Regions from separate parts of the Homo sapiens genome. Here region 2 is linked to region 1. The links are contacts of gene promoters, found by promoter capture Hi-C in blood cells and fetal thymus (Javierre and others, 2016). All regions are on one chromosome and are shown on one strand. Each heading gives the region's core, a stretch centred on a gene start or on the middle of the fragment in contact. The rest is flanking DNA. Distances are from core to core; before and after follow the strand shown. Region 1 holds the start of MMS22L (MMS22 like, DNA repair protein). Region 2 overlaps UFL1-AS1 (UFL1 antisense RNA 1).

Region 1 (5,740 bases), core at 2,291-4,790:
ATACCAATGATTAATCTGTTTTCCTTTATTAGCTTACCCATTCTTTCATAAAATACTTCTCTTGGATTTCATGACAGACATCATACCATACCACACACACTTGATTTTTCTTCTGTGGACTAGCCTTATTTCTTGCTTTTCTTTGCTGGCATTTTCTTGATTACTAGCAAGCTGAATATCTAAAAGTTTTTAAGAGTTTTAGCTTTTACATGTAGGTCTATGATCCTTACTGGGTTAAATTTTATAATATGAGGTAGGTTCATTTTTAAGTGTATCAGTATCCAATAGTTCTCTCACTATTTGTTGAAAAGACTATCCTTTCACCATGGAATTACCTTTGCCAAAAAGCAGCTGATCAAACGTGTATGGGGGCCTGTTACTGGAGTCTCTATTCTTTTCCACTGGCTATGTCTACCCTTAGATCAAAATCATACTGTTTTGATTATTGTAACTTAATGGCAAGTCCTGAAATTAGGTACTGGAATTCTTTCAACACTATTCTTACTCAAAATTGTTTCGGTTAATCTAGGCCCTTTGCATTTCCATATCAGTTTTGGAATGCATTTGTCAATTTCTACAAAAGAAAGTTCTCTGGGATTAGGATTTTGATTGGCAGTCCTTTGAAGCCATAGATAAACTTCAGAAGAACTTTTAATAATATTGAGTCTTCCAATTTATGATTATGCTATCTCATTCTATTTACTTGAATATTCTTGAATTTTTTTCAGCAATATTTTGGAATCCTTGGCAAACAAAATCTGACGCATATTTTGTTAAATTTAAACCTTGTTTATGTCATTAAATGGTGTTGTTTTCTAAACTCTAATTTTCAAATTGTCTTTTCATGTCTATAAAATACAATTAATTTTTGTGTGTCACTGAACCCCGCCACCTTGCTGAACTCATAGTTTTTATATATATTTGTAGAGATTTTTTTAGGATTTTCTATATGAATAATTATGTCATCTGAAAATCAAGACAGTTTTACTTCTTCTTATTCAATCTATATGACATTTATTTCTTCATCTTCCTTATTGCATTGACTAGTTACCTCCAGTAAAATGTTGAGAGAAGTGGAAAAAGTGGACATCATTGCCTTTTTCTCAATCTTAGGAAAAGAACATACATTTTTATAACTAAGTATGATATTAATAGCAGGTTTGTCATAGATATCACATATAAGGTAGGGAGTTTTCTTCCATTCTTAGTTGGCAGAGAGTTTTTATCATGAATAGATGTTGAATTTATCAAGTGATCTTTCAGTGTCTATTGAGATGACAGTTTTTCTTTTTATAGACTTGATATAATGAACTGATTACTTGTAGAAATTTGAATAACCTTGCATTCCTAACATGAATCTAATTTTCTTGTCATATGTCATCCTTTTTGTTTGTTTGTTCTGAGGCGGAGTCTTGTTCTGGAGTACAGTGGCGCGATCTCGGCTCACTGCAACCTCCCCATGCCGGGTTCAAGCGATTCTCCTGCCTCAGCCTCCTGTGTAGCTGGGACTACAGGCACATGGCGCCATACCCGGCTAATTTTTGTATTTTTAGTAGAGACGAGGTTTCACCATGTTGGCCAGGCTGGTCTTGAACTCCTGACCTCAAGTGATCCACCCGCCTTGGTCTCCCAAAGTGCTGGGATTACAGGCGTGAGCCACTGCACCTTGCCATCATATGTCATCCTTTTTATGTACTGCTGGATTTTGCTTGCTAACATTTCTGCTTTTATGTTTGCATGTGATATTGTATTGTAATTGTCTTTTGTCAGGTTTCGATACCAGTGTGGTGCTAGCCTCATAAAACAAGCATCCAATCTCCTAATTTCTCTAAGAGTTAGTATAGAATTGGTATTACTCCTTCCTTAAATGTTTGGGAGAATTTAATAGTAAGGCCATTTGGCCTGGAGAGTGTTTGTTTGTTTTGTTGCTTTTGAGAAATGGTGTTGCTCTGTTGTCCAGGCTGGAGTACAATGGCACACTCACAGTTCACTGCAGCCTCGAACTCTCCAGCTCAAGTGATCCTCTCACCTCAGCCTCCCTAAGTAGTTGGGACTACAGATGAGCACCACCACGCCTGGCTAATATTTGTATTTTTTTTGTGGAGACAAGGGACAGGGTTTCACCATGTTGCCCAGGCTGGTCTGGAACTCCTGGTCTCAAGGGATCCACCTACTTCAGCCTCCCAAAGCCACTGTGCCTGCCCTGGCCTGAAGTTTTCTTGTAAGAAGTGGTGTGTGTGTGTGTGTGTGTGTGTGTGTGTGTGTGTGTGTGCAGAGAGAGAGGAGGGAGGCTTAACCAAAGATTCTGAGTACTACGATAAATACAGAGATACTCAAATTTTCTTCTTTTGTTGATTTTTGACAGTTTGCGTCTTTTAAGGAATTTGTCCATTTCACCTATGCTTATTGGCATAAAAATGTTCATAATGTTCTTTTAATATCCTTGTCCTTTTAATGACTAAATTTCATAGTGATGAAACCTTTTTAATTCCTGATACTGATAATTTGTTTATTTTCTTTATCAGTTTGGGTAGGGGGGTTATCAATTATATTGCTCTTTTAGAAAAACAACTTTTGCATGTATTTCCTTCCATTTATTTCATCCCATTTATTTCTACTATTTATCATTTCATTCATTTTGCTTGCTTTGGTTTCAATATGCTGGGGGTTTTTTCTAGTTACTTAAGACAAAAGTTTATTGAATTGAGTTCTTCTTTTTAATGTAAGCAGGTACTGTTACAAATTTTAGTGTTTTCATTTTAATTTAATTCAACGTATTTTCTAATTTTCCTGTGATTTTTCCTGATTCACAGGTTAGTTAGAAGTATGATTCTTAATTTCCAAATATTTAGAGTATTTCAAGTATCTACTTTATTTCTAGTTTAATGCCATTATGATCAGACTATACACTTTGTACGATTTAAATCTTTTTAAAGTTGATGACATTTGTTTTATGGCTCGGAATATGGTATCGCTTAGTGAATGTTTCATGTGCACTTGACAGGAGTGTGTATTCTGCTATTGTTGGGTTGGTCACCTATAAACGTCAATTAGGTCAAGTTGGTTAGTGCTTTCCAAGTTTTCCATATCCATACTAATTTTCTGTCTACTTGTTCCATCTGTTACAGAGAAAATTAATTGTTGCACTTGCCTGCCTCACAGTCCATGGACAAAAGGCATCTGCATTCTAACAAGAGTTGCTGGCCCCAGAGCGGGAAGAGGGGACGGCGCGACTGTGGGTGTGAACGAGGCACTCACTTCGCACTCACTGGAGTAAATATCTTCTCTTTGGTCCGGCCAGAGGATAAACCCATAGTCCTTAAGTCCTCTCCTCCGCCTCAGCAGCAGTTCTGTTTTTTTTTTTTTACCAGGCCCCGCCTTTCAGCCGAACGCACCAATTAAAGGTACAAAAAAAAAAGTTTCTCAGTACCTCGTCCCGGACTGACGGACTCTCGCGAGAATTCGTGGGGCTCCGACTGTTTCCGCGCAGATATCGCGAGGCGATTGGTAGCCGGGGGAGGGCTGCGCCGTGGCCCCGCCTTTCCGGAGCGCGGGCGCGCGGTGGCGGGAATTTCGCCTGTTTGCGGTTTAGACCCCAAAGATTCCTGTTGGTGGTCTGGGTCACAGGAGGCAGGTTTCGGGAGCTGGAAATGTGAGCGGGTACGACAGGCACCGCGGGTAACCGACGCCCCGGGTCCTTGCTGCAGCCGGGTACGCGGGATACCGGCACCCCGCCTTCTCCGCCCGAGTGCTGCCAGGCGTGGGCCTGGTGGGTCTCGCCTCCTCCTTGGAGGGTCGGGGTTGGCCCTAGGGGTTGCTTTCCTAATTTCCACCCCGAGCCGGGGAGGGAGCGTTCTCCACCCTGCTGCTGGGAAACGGGCGGAGAGTGGTTTAGAAACGTTGCGGAGGGCGCAGTTCTAGGCAAGCCCGGGACGCTATGTCCTGCAGACATTTCTTTGCTTTTCACCTTGTCCTGGGCTGCAGAGCCCGACTTAGTGGCCGGATTTCGAGGTCCCTGCCACAGCCAGTTGGTTGTGCATTTTGTCTTAAGTTCTGACAGCCTTGATGGACGGAGGGCGAGGGGGAATTGGGAATTTGGCCTCTGGGTTTGTTCGTTTGTTTTTCCTTCCTGCTGGCGGACGTCTTGAGAACTTTCTGAAGTAATCCCCACTCTCTCGGCCCCACCCCCCCCCCCCCAACAGGAATCTCTTCACACCTTCTCTTTGGAGCCCTTAATGATACGACGAACCCCAAGTGTTTCAGAACATGAAGTAAACAATGGAGAACTGTTCTGCTGCATCGACGTTCCTGACTGACAGCTTAGAGCTGGAGCTGGGGACGGAATGGTGCAAACCTCCTTACTTTTCTTGTGCTGTTGACAACAGAGGAGGAGGAAAACATTTTTCTGGAGAATCCTACCTCTGCAGCGGAGCCCTTAAGCGGTAGGTAAAACTCAGAGACATTTTCCCTCATCTGATTATTCACCAGTTTTTTAGGAATGTTAGTTATTTCAGCCCATTAAACTTTGGTGTTCACCAAGTCGTGTTTTATAAATCAGCTTAGTATATCATAAGGGTACAAATGATTATCAGTTCTGCTGGCTTCTTGGTAAGGGCATATCTAAAGTATTTGGGGTATTAGGGAAAACTTCCTTGGTAACTGATGTTCCCTTACTGTAGGGAGCTGGGCACTAATTTTTCTTCTACTTAAAATGAATTCCTAACTATCTGAGCCTTTTGCAGTAGTATTTCCTTCTAAAGAGTGTGATAATATTCTAGAGCTTTCCAGTAATATTTAAGAGAGACAAACATTTTTTATTGCCCCTGTTCCTTCTAATCCTACCTGCACATATAGAAGTGTATAGACTTATTTTGCCTTGGGCAGGTACATATATATTACAGTAAAACTGTTCTTGAAATATTTTGGTAATACCTGCTGAGGCAGTTTCAGTGAGGAAACTATTTTTGTTGACCTTATAGTTGTACCTTGTTAGAAATCTTAAATAGAATACTCAACTTCATTAGTTGGATACTATTCTCCAGACATGGCTCAGAATAACTGTTAGCAGTTTTAAAATTAAATGTCCCCTCAAAGGATGAAATTCTACAACTGAAGACTACTGGTGAAGACAGGCAGAAATATGTTTTTTAGAATTCTTGTTGATTTTTCCTCTTAAGTTACATTACACTTTAGTCGTACATTTTATCAATATAGAAGATTGACGTTTTAATACAGTCTAGCTATTGTAATCTTGAATGTGTAAAGTACCAAGGCATTTTCTGACTTTTTATACATGTCATGTATAATATGGATTCAAATAATGTAAAGAAAAGAGCCGTCGTATTATGGTACTTAGTATACTTTTTATGAGATTGAAACAATTTTCATTTCAGATTGATTTTGAATCTTGACCCTTTACCAACTAATTTTGAAGAAGATACCTTGGAAATATTTGGCATTCAGTGGGTTACTGAAACAGCATTAGTGAATTCATCTAGAGAACTCTTTCATTTATTCAGGTATTTCTTCGTTATAACTTTCTGTGAGTGTAGGTGTTGTTCACTTTTGTAAATTACGTTGTTGGGTGGCTTCTAATACTGATATTACAAAAGACCAGAGGAATTGTGCTGGTTGCTCACTTGATTATCTTACCAGTAACAATAATCAAGCAGCAATGCCTGATGAGTAATGGTTTTAATGAGTTGCGTTTTCAGAATCTTTATTCTTTGCATTTGACACA
Region 2 (5,740 bases), core at 1,679-4,178, 780 kb after region 1:
GTGATATTGTAGGTAAAGTAATTACAGACTATTCATTTTGTATGTAATAATGCATCAAGAACTTTTCTGATTTTTTATTTGTTAGAAAACTCAGAGTTTAGACCAAATCCTAAATATAATAGAAAACATTGAGTTTTTAAAAAAACTTTTGACCATTTATACCAACCAACTGTAAAGCTTCTTCTTTTATATCTTTCAGCATTTAGTTATAAATAATGAATCAGGAAACAAAGGGCCAATAATGACATAATGAACTCCTTAAGGTACGCATAATGTTTCATAAGTTAAGTTAGAAATTTCCAATTGCTTTTTCTAAAATGGAAACAACTGTATAACAAGATTGCTTCTTTGAAATACTGTAAAAGTATAATGTTCTAGATTGTTATATACTGCAACATATTAAAGCCTAATGGATTTTCCTCATGAAAATCTGTAATACTGCTATGATTGAATACTTCTTCAGAACTTGGTAAGCATGTTGCTTTTTTAAAATCTTGTATTTGTCATAGTACTTATTCTGGCAGGTGGGGGGACATTTGGGTGATGCTTGTTGTTAACAGAAGGACGAATTAGTTTTGCAGCATGAATTGGCATTCTATAAAATTCATTCACAAAATAATTGCTTACTGGGGATTTTCATCATTATAACTGAGAAAGAGGAGGCACATCTGTGCTCTTTTGCAATATGAGACAGTCATTTTTCAAACAAATCATACATGCAACAATAGATAGGAATATGGCGGGAAAAAGATTCAGTGGTTCTATCTGAGCCCGTGATTCCAATACCAGAGGCAGAATTGAGATTCAAGTCTATAACTGTACCAGGAAAAGTCATAATAAGGGTATAGGGGGTTGATACATTTAACTTCTGTCTATGACAGCTTTCTTTGGATAATTTGGTAGAAAAAACAACATGCAATAAAAACATCTTTAGAAGTCTTAGATTATTACTAATTATTTATGGGATTGGTTTCAGAAATTTGATACCTTAACATCTTAAAGAAAAAGGAAGGCCAGGTACATTGGCTCAGACCTGTAATCCTAGCACTTTGAGAGAGCAAGGAGTGAAGATTGCTTAAGGCCAGGAGTTCAAGACAAGCCTGGGCAAAAGTGTGAGACCCCCAACTCTACAAAAAACAAAACAAAACAAAACAAAAAACAAAAAAACCTAGCTGGATATGGATATGGTAGCACGTGCCTGTAGTCGTAGCTACAGGAGGCTAAGGTGGGAGGATTGCTTGAGCCCAAGGGTTCAAGGCTACAGTGAGCCATGATCAGCCCATTGCACTCCAGCCTGGGTGACAGAGTGAGATCTTTTCTTTAAAGAGAGAGAGACAGACAGAGAGAGAAATACTCTCAACAGGCAGCATGAAATCATGTTCTAAATCCACACTTCTTTTTTTTCCTGAAGATATTTGTTCAATAACATACGAGCCAAATAATGGAAACTGACATCGTGTGTGTGTGTGTGTGTGTGTGTGTGTGTGTGTGTGTGTGTGTGTGTTGGGGAGGAGCTAGGTATGCAGGAGAACCAACCACCAGGGGAATCTCCTAGTACTTCCTGAATCCCAAAGGTTCTTTGCCTCTAATATCTGACATCCTTCACTTCCTTTTCCTTCTCTTTGCAACCACCAGCAACTTGACTTACGTGTTACTTGTGTTTAGGTACAATGTATTAGTTTTGTTTGTTTGTTTTTGTTTTGTTTTTAGATGGAGTTCTCTGTTGTTGCCCAGGCTGGGGTGCAATGGCGAGATCTCAGCTCACTGCAACCTCCACCTCCCAGATTCAAGCGATTCTCCTGCCTTGGCCTCCTGAGTAGCTGGGATTACAGGCATGTGCCACCACGCCTGGCTAATTTTGTATTTTTAGTAGAGACAGGGTTTCTCCATGTTGATCAGGCTGGTCTCGAACTCCTGACCTCAGGTGAGCTGCCCGCCTTGGCCTCCCAAAGTGCTGGGATTACAGGTATGAGCCATCGTGCCCAGCCAATGTCATTAATTTTTATACCGACAGATATATATAGCACAGTGCCTTGAGGTGAAATATTAAATTGCCACTTTATACATGGATTATTACAATTGCTATTTAACTGTTTTGAGGATTCCAGTTTACATTTTATATTTATATTAAAACCATAATTATATTGAATGTAATTCAAGTGATGCCATTTGTGCTTTTAAAATCATTTAAAATGTTTTGTGTGTTCTAAAATGTTAATGACTAGTGGTCAAATAAATGAAGTATAGACTCCTAAAAATCTCCTGAAATAGCCCAACCCAATCTATCCCCAAATTAGTGTCCCGATTGCAGCCTAATCTCCTCAGCACCCTTCATGAAGGCTGGCATTCAGCCACATGCCACATTGTTGCCCTTCTGGAAATATGCCAGATTCTTTCAGGGCACGGAATATTTGCAAAGAATGTTTTACCTTTCTGAAATACCCTTTCCTTCTTCTTCAGTCCTGGCAAAGTTAGTTTCTTCCTCTTATTTTTTCATTAGGCTTTATCTACTCTCCTCTTAAACAATGTAAGGATCTTAGAAAACTTTACCCTTTCCACTTAAATAATTTTTAAACTTTATTCTATTATTTTTTACTCCCCAAATTCATTGTAAATTTATCCAAAGTTTAACATCTATTTTCCTCTATGTTTTATTTTTCATCTACTATTTCTTTCTTTCTTGGTTTTATTTTTTCATTGTAAAAAACTAAGGTGGACTTGTTAGTAGTTTTTTCTGCAAAAGGCTATTAGTAGTAAAACTATTATAGTCTATATTTGTCCAGCATCAAATCTACCAGAATGGCTAAAATTAAAAAGACTGACAGTAACAAGTATTGATGAGTATGTGAAACACTGCTGGTGGAAATATAAGTAAATACAACAATTTGGAAACATTATTTGGTATCATCAACTAATGCTGAACATAATAAACAGCTTATACCCCTAGGTAAAATCCAACAGAAATGCGTACATATTGTGGCAGGTTGAATAATTGTCCCCCAAGGATGTCCATATCCTAATACTCAGAACCTGTGAATGTTACCTTATATGACAAAATAAAATTTGCAGGTGTGATTAAGTTAAATGTGTTGAGATGGGGAGATTATTCTCAATTATCTGAGTGGTCTCAATGTAATCACAGTGATCCTTATAAAAGGGATGCAGGAGAAGTCAGAGTTGGAGAGAAAGCAATCGATGACTGAAGCAAGCAGAGCATGTAGTGATGTGGCCACAGTTCAATGAATACTAAGTCTAAAAGCTGGAAGGATCAAGGAACAGACTCCTCCTGGAGACTCCAAAAGAAATCAGCCCTGGCTGGGCGTGGTGGCTCATGCCTGTAATCCCAACACTTTGGGAGGCTGAGGCGGGCGGATCACGAGGTCAGGAGATCGAGGCCATCCTGGCTAACACGGTGAAACCCCGTCTCTACCAAAAAAATAGAAAAAATTAGCCGGGCACGGTGGCGGGTGCCTGTAATCCCAGCTACTCGGGAGGCTGAGGCAGGAGAATGGCGTGAACCCGGGAGGTGGAGCTTGCAGTGAGCCGAGATCGTGCCACTGCACTCCAGCCTGGGCAACAGAGCGAGACTCCATCTCAAAAAAAAAAAAAAAAAAAAAAAAAAAGAAGAAGAAATCAGCCCTGCTGACACCCTTGTTTTAATCCCATGAGCTCCATTTCAGGCTCCGACCTCTAGAATTCTGAGAATGGGGACTTAAATTGCTTTTGTTAATGGTAGTCCCTATGCCTAGACAGTGTAAGTGCTCAATAAGAATTGTTGAACAACAACAAACTGTGTGAATGAATGAATGAGTGCAAATGTCTTTATTTCACTCTTATTTGGATGGGTAAATTGGCGTGGTATAGAATTCTAGATTGATGACTATTTTTTTCAGCACTTTAGAGAGTTTTCTGGCTTTTCTTTTATTTTCCCAGCCATTATCTCTTTGAATACTGTGCCTCCTTCATTTTCTCAATTCTTCCCTTTTGTAACTGTTACTGGACTTTCTAGCCATGGTGTCTTTAAATCTGTCCTTCATTTTATCCATCTGTTTATTTCCTCCTGTTGCTCTCTGGATATTTTGTTCAGATCACATCCAGTTCATTTATAGTTTTGTTTAACTCATCCACACAAAGTGCACAAGTCACAAGGGTGAATCTCAACAAACTATTACAAAGTAAACACATGCTGCAACTAGGTCAATAAAATTCTGTCATTGCCAAGAAGCTCCCTCATGCCATCTTCCAATCACTATGGCTTTCTTTCTATCTAGAGGTAATCATTCCTTTAATATTTCCATTAGAGGAATCTACCAGCAATGTCAGTGGGTCTACTGACAACAGATGCTATTGTTGTGGTCTGCAAATATCCTAGTTTGACTTTGTTCCTCAAAGACATTTTCATTGACTATAGAATTTTAGATTGGCAGTTATTTTCTTTTGGTACTTTGAAAATACATTTCAGTGTCTTCTGGCTTCGTAGTTTTTATTGAAAAGGCAATTATGATTCTGATTATGATTCCCATCAAGGTAGTCTCTTTTCCTTCCCTATAGATGATCTTATGATTTTCTAATTTTTCTTTGTTTTTCATTGATTTCACTATAATGTGCTATGTGTAGCTTTCTTTGTATATATCCTTTTTTGGGATTCCTAATACTATCTGAATCTGCAGCTTAATCTCTTTTTCCAGTTGTGAAAAATCCATAGCCATACTCTCTTCAACTATCTTTCTGCTCCATTTTTCTCTCCTTTTCTTCTGGGACTCCACTTACACATTTGTTGGAACTTTTAATTGGATCCCCGATGTCTTTCCTATGTAATTTTCTCTATTTTTCCTTCTTTTTGTCTCTTTATACTTCATCCTGGGTATTTTCTTCTGACCAATTTACCAGGTGATTTATTCTTTTTTCATCTATGACTAATTTACTGTTAACCCATATATTGAGTATTTTTTCAGTAATTGCATTTTTTCATATCTAGAATTTTCATTGGATTGTTCTTTACATTTTTAGCTATCTGACAATATTTTAAATTATGTCTTTTATTTCCTTGACTATATTAACATCTATTTCTAATAACTTTATAATTTTGAATTTTCTCTTGTCTGTTTCTGATATCTGTTTTTCTCTTGGTTGTGATCATGTTGTCTTGTCTCCTTGTTATTCTAATTATTTTTTAATATAAACTACCCATTTTATACAAAGTAGTAGAGATAATTTAAGTGTGTAATATCTTCCACCAAAGAGGATTTATATATTTTTTTCTAGTAGGTGGCTAGTAATTCCAGATCACCTTGATATAATCAAGGCTTATAAAAGCCCACTTAAAAAATCATAAACACGGATTTCTAGAGTATATTTCTTTGTGGTCTCAAAGCCCCAGATGTTTGCCACTTGCCTGTCCTAGGCAGGCAATGAACTCCAATTTTTGTTCCCTTGGCACCATGAATCTGTTCAAAGTTTTGCAAAGCTCCTGATTCTCTCAGGTGCCTCTTCTGATATGAGCGTGGACAGAAAAAAAAAATGGCACCAGTTGCAGAACTCTTCTGTCTTTTTCATTTTCTCCCCTAAATATCTTGATCTTTTAATTCACCCCTGCCTCTTTAATGTTCAAATGACATAGAACAGATTTTTAAAAAAATATTTTGCAAGTATTAATAGTTGCTCTGAGCCTGAAGCTTGATCTGATTTACTTTGTTTGCAATTACTGGAAGTCAGGAGCAATTGCAAGATATTCACAGCT

What was found. The method cuts DNA at HindIII sites, captures the fragments that hold promoters and counts their contacts. A CHiCAGO score of 5 or more calls a contact.
Region 2: a fragment that was not itself captured here is called in contact with the fragment with the promoter of MMS22L in region 1 in 4 of 17 cell types (non-activated CD4 T cells, naive CD8 T cells, naive B cells and 1 more); the score reaches 6.5 in non-activated CD4 T cells.

What each region holds. Positions count from the first base shown.
Region 1 is chr6:97,281,016-97,286,755 of GRCh38, reverse strand. It overlaps MMS22L (MMS22 like, DNA repair protein), which reads left to right and starts at 3,540. Exons shown (of 25, transcript NM_001350599.2): 1 at 3,540-3,660; 2 at 4,203-4,442; 3 at 5,394-5,519. The coding sequence starts at 4,279. RefSeq lists enhancers at 3,264-3,323, 3,704-3,963. The HindIII fragment of the contact is 13,882 bases long and covers 1-5,740 here.
Region 2 is chr6:96,502,182-96,507,921 of GRCh38, reverse strand. The region is part of intron 1 of UFL1-AS1 (UFL1 antisense RNA 1); the gene reads left to right. Among named protein-coding and RNA genes, the nearest start is that of UFL1-AS1, 17 kb to the left of the region's middle. The HindIII fragment of the contact is 5,498 bases long and covers 180-5,677 here.